3 separate regions of the Homo sapiens genome follow, and regions 1 and 3 are each linked to region 2. Evidence: promoter capture Hi-C in human tissues and cell types (Jung and others, 2019). All regions are on one chromosome and are shown on one strand. Each heading gives the region's core, a stretch centred on a gene start or on the middle of the fragment in contact. The rest is flanking DNA. Distances are from core to core; before and after follow the strand shown.

Region 1 (2,700 bases), core at 159-2,658, 300 kb after region 2:
GACCTCGTTAAAAAAAAAAAAAAAAAGGAAGGAAGGAAGGAAAAGAGAAAAGAGCTGTAAAAAACAAAACAAAACAAAACAAAAACAAGCTTCGTCATAGTATCATGCTTGGAGACAGTGCCAGGGATGGAATACAGCAACTTAAACAAACAACAGCCCTTTATATGGCAGCATAAACTGAAACAGCTCCCCTTTCCTCCTCCAAGATGAGGGGAGAAGCTTGGGCTGAGCTGGGCACCTTTTAATGTTTCCTAATTTGAGGAAGCTTTGTAATACAATTCAGGGCAAGACGGGGGAAAGGCACCTTTTGCATAATAAGACCAGAGCTATCTAACAGCAAATAGGATACAAATCAGGGTAACAGAAGAATACTAACTTGTCACTCAGAAAGGCATGCTCTCCAGGAGACCAATTCTCATGGGAGAGGAGTGTTTGCTTTCAGATGTTTACCAGACTAGAGGTTCAGCCTGGAAGCACCCAGAGATCCCTTCCTCACCCATGGAACCAGGGCTCGCCTTTGCATTGGACAGGGCTGGCCTAAAGAGAGACAACAATGAGAAGAGAGAAGAGAGTCAGGGAGCATGGGAGCAACTGCAGGACACCCTCTCTGTCACCCAGGATACATTTGTAATGCAAAGAGCTGAACAATCCATCCCAACTCCCTCTACTGTCTTCCCAAGACCAAGAGAGATAATGGATCTGAGAGTCTCATAAAATGCAATTTGGGTGCAATCAATGACCACCCAAGAAGAGTTTGGCAACCTCTTTCTTCAGGTTTCCTCCCTGGAGCACAAGCTTTCTCAGCCAAGGCACTATTGACCTTTTAGGCCTGTCAATTCTTTGTGGAAAACCACGGCTCCAGCAGAGGCACAGGTGGATTTATTGAGTTGCTAATGAAGTCGTGGCCTCAAAACCCTTCATTTACACTATTAGCTCCTTCCAAAGAGCTGAGGGAGGTCCTAATGAATGATGTGTTCACAGAGTGAACGTTTTTTGTAAAATTTGTTAAAAACATTTTTTAACTGCAATTGGTTAAGATCACTCAGTCACACATTATCTCCTTTTACTCCAGCACTTTCTTATAAAAATTTGTATTTTTGTGGCTTTTTTTTTTTTAGAGAGGGGGTCTTGCTCTGTCACCCCAAGGCTGGAGTGCAGTGGCTCAACCATGGCTCATTGCAACCTCCAATTCCTGGGCTCAAGGGATCCTTCCACCTAAGCTTCCCAAGTAGCTGGGACTGCAGACGGGAGCCACTACTATGTCTGATAATTTTTTTTTTTTTTTTTTTTGAGACGGAGTCTCGCTCTGTCACCAGGCTGGAGTGCAATGGTGCGATCTCGGCTCACTGCAACCTCTGCCTCCTGAGTTCAAGCGATTCTCCTTGGTTGCTGAGTTCAAGCGAGTAGCTGGGACTACAGGCGCACGCCACCACACCCAGCTAATTTTTGTATTTTTAGTAGAGACGGGGTTTCGCCGTGTTGGCCAGGATAGTCTCGCTTTCTTGACCACGTGATCTGCCTGCCTTGGCCTCCCAAAGTAGAGTCGGGGCTCACTGTGTTGCCCGGACTGGTCTTGAATTCCTAGCCTCAAGTGAACCTGCCAAAGTGCTGAGATTACAGGCATGAGTCACCACACACAGCCAAAATTTGTATTTGTAATTTTTAATCATTTTTCTTTTTTTTTTTTTTTAATTCATACAGAGTCTCGCTCTGTCGCCCAGGCTGGAGTGCAGTGGCGCGATCTCAGCTCACTGCAAGCTCCGCCTACCGGGTTCACCGCACTCTCCTGCCTCAGCCTCCCGAGTAGCTGGGACTACAGGCGCCCGCCACCACGCTCGGCTAATTTGTTGTATTTTTAGTAGAAACGGGGTTTTACCATGTTAGCCAGGATGGTCTCGATCTCCTGACCTCATGATCCACCCGCCTCGGCCTCCCAAAGTGCTGGGATTACAGGCGTGAGCCACCGCGCCCGGCCTTTTTTATCATTTTCTTAAAGATGGTCCCCCCCAGTAGCCTAAGCTTCAGGCCCCACAAAACCCAGATCTGACCCTAGAGTAAGACAATCCTTGCTTCTACCCCATCCTCACATACTCAAAGTTTTTAAACCTCTTTAGGCATCAGTTTCATTTGAAAAATTGGTTTATTAATGGTGATTTCCTAAGATTCTTGTGAAAACTAAGTGATAAAATGGAAACTGCTTAGCCTACTGCCTAGAACAACCACACACTCAATACATGGTAGCTGTTATGAAAATAGTGATATATTCATTTCCTGATAGTGGAAATCAAATGTGGTGACCGCTTCAGTTGGGAGAAGGACTACCAGCTTCCTGATGGCGGGAAACCACGATGACACTGAGGAGCTAAAACATTTGGCTAGAACCATCACCAAGGAAAAAGTCTGGTTTTGAAAATGATGCCAGGCACGGTGGCTCACATCTGTAATCCCAGCGCTTTGGGAGGCCAAGGCAAGCATATTGCTTCAGCCCAGGAGTTCAAGACCTGCCTGGGCAACATGGCAAAACCCTGTCTCTAGCATTGCAACATAGTGAGACCTCATCTCTACAAAAAATACAAAAATTAGCTGAGTGTGGTGGCATGTGCCTGTAGTCCCAGCTACTTGGGAGTCTGAGGTGGGAAGATTGCTTGAGCCCAGGAGGTCAAGGCTGCAGTGAGCAGTGATCATGCCACTGCACTCTAG
Region 2 (2,700 bases), core at 201-2,700:
GGGCTAGCATGATGAACCCAGGGCTCTCAATTCCCAGTCAGTGTCCTTTTCAACCGTTTTGCGACTCTCTTTGGCTCTGAGCCCCCCTTGTCCTGTTAATCAGTGCCACACATTATCGAACTCTTGTTTCCTGTGTTAATCTTGTCTCCCCAAATTGTGAGATTCTTGAAAGCAGGAGCCACTGTTTTATGCGGAGGGACTCCATAAATATTCACCAATGATTCATTAGGAAAGCAACTATTGGGGGAATCCCACTTGGTCATTTCCAAAATGGAAAGCAGCATCTTGGAAGTGCAGGTCCCCAAATGTCTAGGGAGGTGACAAGAAGGCAAGCAAAGAATCAAAGAATACTGAGCACAGTGTCCTGTTGCAATACAGGACTTAGTTTGCCGGCCCTCTGGTTCCTTTCCTGGTCTTTCAGATGGAGCTGGAGCTACTTCAGCAGGGCTAAGAATAATCAAGTCCAGGTGGCCTGCCCTTCCATAGCAGAAAGGGACAGACAATAGAGCAATGAAATTACCACTGTTTTCTACACAGAGGTGTGTGGAAAGTGAAGAGAGGGGAAGTTAAGAAATTTGCTGACCCAATTGGGTGGGGGGGGGCTCTTAAAAAGGTTTATGTAGAAATTGTCCCATCTGTGCCTCCATATTTAAAACCTTGTCCAAAATTCTAATTGAACTCACAAAGCACAACTGTGCATATATTTAGTTCGTTATGGAGTTTATGGGGCAGAGGGTCCAGGCTCCTTTTTTCCCCATGCAAAAAGCATGGGCTCAAGCTTTCTTCTTTTCCCCTGTTGCTCAAATAAATAGTGTTCTTTGCTCAAACCCCCTTTCCCTCCTCCTTCTGCAATCTCAGCGCCTAGCGCAAATCTGTTTTCTTCATTGTAACCTCAGCTTCACCGCAATTAATTTTTTTTCCCTCTGGTCACAAGATAATTCCTGACGCCAGTGAGTCTGGAGGTCAGACGAACAGCAAATTGGGGAACAAGGCGGCACTAATTCCTTACAAGTTTCCCTTGAAAAATCTTTCGCTTAAAAAAAACGGGGGGTGGGGGGAGCTTCTTTGCTGTTCAGGGATTTATGACCTCGGAGGAGCTGTGGCTCGAACCAGTGTTGGGCTAAAGGCGGACTGGCAGGGGGCAGGGAAGCTCAAAGATCTGGGGTGCTGCCAGGAAAAAGCAAATTCTGGAAGTTAATGGTTTTGAGTGATTTTTAAATCCTTGCTGGCGGAGAGGCCCGCCTCTCCCCGGTATCAGCGCTTCCTCATTCTTTGAATCCGCGGCTCCGCGGTCTTCGGCGTCAGACCAGCCGGAGGAAGCCTGTTTGCAATTTAAGCGGGCTGTGAACGCCCAGGGCCGGCGGGGGCAGGGCCGAGGCGGGCCATTTTGAATAAAGAGGCGTGCCTTCCAGGCAGGCTCTATAAGTGACCGCCGCGGCGAGCGTGCGCGCGTTGCAGGTCACTGTAGCGGGACTTCTTTTGGTTTTCTTTCTCTTTGGGGCACCTCTGGACTCACTCCCCAGCATGAAGGCGCTGAGCCCGGTGCGCGGCTGCTACGAGGCGGTGTGCTGCCTGTCGGAACGCAGTCTGGCCATCGCCCGGGGCCGAGGGAAGGGCCCGGCAGCTGAGGAGCCGCTGAGCTTGCTGGACGACATGAACCACTGCTACTCCCGCCTGCGGGAACTGGTACCCGGAGTCCCGAGAGGCACTCAGCTTAGCCAGGTGGAAATCCTACAGCGCGTCATCGACTACATTCTCGACCTGCAGGTAGTCCTGGCCGAGCCAGCCCCTGGACCCCCTGATGGCCCCCACCTTCCCATCCAGGTAAGCCTCGAAGTCGGGACAGGGCTGAACACCCAGGCAAGGATGCTGCGGGACCCTCGGAGCTCCCGATTGCCTCGCGTAACTCTTCCCTCTTTTCCTCTAATCAGACAGCCGAGCTCACTCCGGAACTTGTCATCTCCAACGACAAAAGGAGCTTTTGCCACTGACTCGGCCGTGTCCTGACACCTCCAGGTGAGTATCTCCTCTCTTGGAGAGGGAGGTTTAAACGGCAAGTCCTGGAGTTGGCAGACGTTTTGAAAAATTGCCACTCACTCGGTTTAGGGAAACTGAGGCCAGAGAGGGACAAGTGACTTGCCCATGGTTGCATCAAATGAATGGCAGAGTCAGTTTCCATGTGATGTGCATTTAAGCCTTAAATGCGCCTGGGCCCTGCCCTCCCGCAGTGGCCGAGGGTCTGGCAAAGTAGACATGGGTCCGACTAAATACAAGTCTTTCTGTTCCATGTTGTATAGGGAGCTGTCTTCGGCAGCCCCCTCCCAGCTAGTGTCAATTCCAAGTAGGAGGGGTAGCGCAAGCTCCGCCTGTGGTCTTTGGCGCCAACTGGGTGGGGGCAGCGTGGGGCGCGGAGTTATCAGCTGGAGGTACAGACCAAGTTTCCTCCCTGGCGCCGGCCAGTCTGCGGACGGCCCCCGCCTCGGCACGCTCGGCGGAAACTGACTGCTCCTTGGTCTTCTTTCCTCCCCCGCCCAGAACGCAGGTGCTGGCGCCCGTTCTGCCTGGGACCCCGGGAACCTCTCCTGCCGGAAGCCGGACGGCAGGGATGGGCCCCAACTTCGCCCTGCCCACTTGACTTCACCAAATCCCTTCCTGGAGACTAAACCTGGTGCTCAGGAGCGAAGGACTGTGAACTTGTGG
Region 3 (2,700 bases), core at 31-2,530, 400 kb before region 2:
AAGTAAAAGGCCTTTGTATCTAGTTTTTTGCAGATCACATTTCTTTGAATGCTGGAAAGTGAAATAAACTGGTCTAGGAGCCAAAAATAAATCTTGGGTTTTTTTAAGATTTTGCTCTTAGATTTGTAACCACCTGGGTACAACTTTTTCCTAATTTGTGTAAGAGGTTTTAGAGATGCACTCTGTCCCTCTTGCTTTACAAATTGCCTACAAGAATGCAACCAAAATACTAGAAACTGAAACTTACACAAAACCTTTCAGGTTTTTTCCTGTGTTGTAGTTCTAGGGAAGAGGATAGTTTATTAGTATTTATTTTAAGCTTAAGGATAGGTTTTGGACCTGGATTCCATCATAGTATAACTGCCATCGAAAAGAAGACAAATTGAAATTACAGCATTTACCTAAGGTTCACAGTATGGCTGACTTCAGCAGCCTTACATGGTAAGTTCTCTGTACCAGCTATTTTTGGTTCTCGCAATTGCATCGACTTGGGAAATTCCTATCACCATTCTCTATATAGGCTAACCAAAACTTTTATCAGTACCTTTCCTAAAGTATGAAGTTAGGTAATCTTCCACTCCCACTTCCATTTACTCATTTTGCTTGAGTCAAACCAAAAATCTAGTGTATTACTAGATTAGTCACTAAAAATCTAGTGTATTCAATATATACACTAGATTCAATATATAGCTTAAAAACTAACAGACACCTAGGCTGAGATTTGTCCAATACATGAAGTTCAATTCTGCAATCCTTGGCATTGTTCACAGAAATTACCCTGGAAACAAAATGAACACCCAAATGCTGGTTCTGCCTTAACTCCAAATTGTTAACTAGTTTGCATGAAAATAATACAGCTTTGCCATGGGACTAGTTGTAGCATTTTAAGGATTACTCAAACTAGTTTTAAGATGCCCTATCATTTGGAATCTGTATCAGAAAGGTGTGGTTGTGATGCTTTTCTTCTGAGGGGTCCCCTTATATACTTTTCATTTGTCAACATACTTAAAACACAAGGGTTCTTGTCAACTTGATAAATTTGCTTATAATTTTTTTTCTATGAACCTAGATCATGGAATTAACTTTCAAAAGCTTTGCGATGTTTTCCATGTGTGGCCTTTTTTTTGCTTTTTAATTAACACTACTGGGAGAGAGAAATCCTAAGTAGTTGCTTAACTGCATAGCTGTCAAATCCTAGTATCTTCTGTATCAGTCAGCAAACTAGTTGCCCCTTTTCAAGCCAACAGTCCTATCACATTTTAGTTGTGACCTTTTTTATATATACGTATATATATATGATCAGAAATGTAGTGGTTCATAGTTCTGGAGTCTGAGAAATCCAAGAGTTTGGAATATTGTGAGTGTATTATGAGCTTCAAGTCAGTGACAAGTAAAACACATTTTTAAAAAGAATATTAAGCAATCAAAACCATTTTTAAAATAAAACCAAGCCAATGGGGAAAAATTTTATTTAATTTTATGCTTCACATTCATATCATGTACATTAAGTACTACATAAACTTGTCTTTAGGCTATCAATATTTAACTTGGGCAGTACTTCATCTTGATTTATTTGGAGAAATACAGCTTAGGCATCTGCTTACCTGCTTAGGCATCAAGAGGTGCCAAATTAGAAAATAGGGCATTAACAATCAAAATTTTTAAGCTGACCCACATACTTGCTACTGGTTTCGCTTATGTTTAAGCATTTAAAGTTGGCAAAACATGTTATCAATGTATTATGCAAGAGTTTACATCTTTTGCATAAGTGGTCCATTGGGTTGCACCTACCCCTTGACCAAACAAAAACAAAACATCACTGGCACCATACTCGAAACTACCTGTATCCTAGGTTATAAGATTGTGAAAGCCAACAATCTATAAGGTTGGAGGGACTCTAGTTAATCTTTGGGCTTAGAGGAGGAAAAAAAGATAGTCCCATACTGCATTTCACATCTCTTAAAAATAGTTTTAGCAGCTTAAACCTTTTTAGTTATAAAACTTATTACACTAGGGTTTACTTTGAAATATAGTTTACAACCAAATCAAGTATAACATACATACACTGGCACTTTAGCACAAGGGCAAACTTTAAAAACAAGTTATTTTGGACCTTTAAAATTAGGCCATATTATAAAAAACAGTCCACGGTCTTACATTCAGCAAATTCATACTAAAATACTCCATTTTTGTAAGATAAAGGCCAAGAAAACTTTACATATGCTACAAGTTTATTACAGATATTTACATGGCTCTTTCTCCCCTAGGTACTTAAAATTTTCACATTATCCAACTCCCCAAAGCAAGCTTTGCAGGAATGATGAGGCCAGAGCACTATTAGAATAGCTTGTGCAGTGCTGTAATACAAAAATGTATTTTGAAAGCTATTGAGTGACCATTAAATACTGTTTCTATAAAAAATGGTTTTGGTGTATTTGTTGACAGACACTTAATCCACTACATTTAATAAACAGGGCCATTGGGGTGTACTATGTCTCATTCTAATGAGCTCCAAATGCCCTTTCCACCCACTGTACAATTCACTAAAATGCAATTATTACGAAAAATTCACATTTTCTTTCAGCAGTGCATCAGGTTAGCATATTACTGGTTTGGGTGTTTCTAATATACTAAACCTTCAGATGTTTACCTAATTCTGAATCCTTGTGTTAGCTAGAAGCTTATAATCCGATTCACCAA

What was found. Contacts are between HindIII fragments. The study calls those that stand out against the background at their distance.
Region 1: a fragment that was not itself captured here is called in contact with the fragment with the promoter of ID3 in region 2 in 3 of the 25 tissues and cell types used here (hippocampus, mesenchymal stem cells and pancreas).
Region 3: a fragment that was not itself captured here is called in contact with the fragment with the promoter of ID3 in region 2 in 1 of the 25 tissues and cell types used here (pancreas).

What each region holds. Positions count from the first base shown.
Region 1 is chr1:23,261,600-23,264,299 of GRCh38, reverse strand. No RefSeq gene overlaps it. Among named protein-coding and RNA genes, the nearest start is that of LINC01355, 23 kb to the left of the region's middle. RefSeq lists an enhancer at 189-1,023. The HindIII fragment of the contact is 3,246 bases long and covers 1-2,700 here.
Region 2 is chr1:23,558,251-23,560,950 of GRCh38, reverse strand. ID3 (inhibitor of DNA binding 3) reads left to right here and starts at 1,450. Exons shown (of 3, transcript NM_002167.5): 1 at 1,450-1,824; 2 at 1,932-2,016; 3 at 2,536-2,700. The coding sequence starts at 1,525. The coding sequence ends at 1,991. The region is part of intron 2 of LOC124903876 (a long non-coding RNA gene); the gene reads right to left. RefSeq lists silencers at 1,137-1,383, 1,251-1,510 and an enhancer at 2,451-2,580. The HindIII fragment of the contact is 6,582 bases long and covers 1-2,700 here.
Region 3 is chr1:23,962,195-23,964,894 of GRCh38, reverse strand. It overlaps PNRC2 (proline rich nuclear receptor coactivator 2), which reads right to left. Exons shown (of 3, transcript NM_017761.4): 3 at 1,433-2,700. SRSF10 (serine and arginine rich splicing factor 10) reads left to right here. Exons shown (of 6, transcript NM_054016.4): 6 at 1-548. Among named protein-coding and RNA genes, the nearest start is that of PNRC2, 3.7 kb to the right of the region's middle. The HindIII fragment of the contact is 3,642 bases long and covers 1-2,700 here.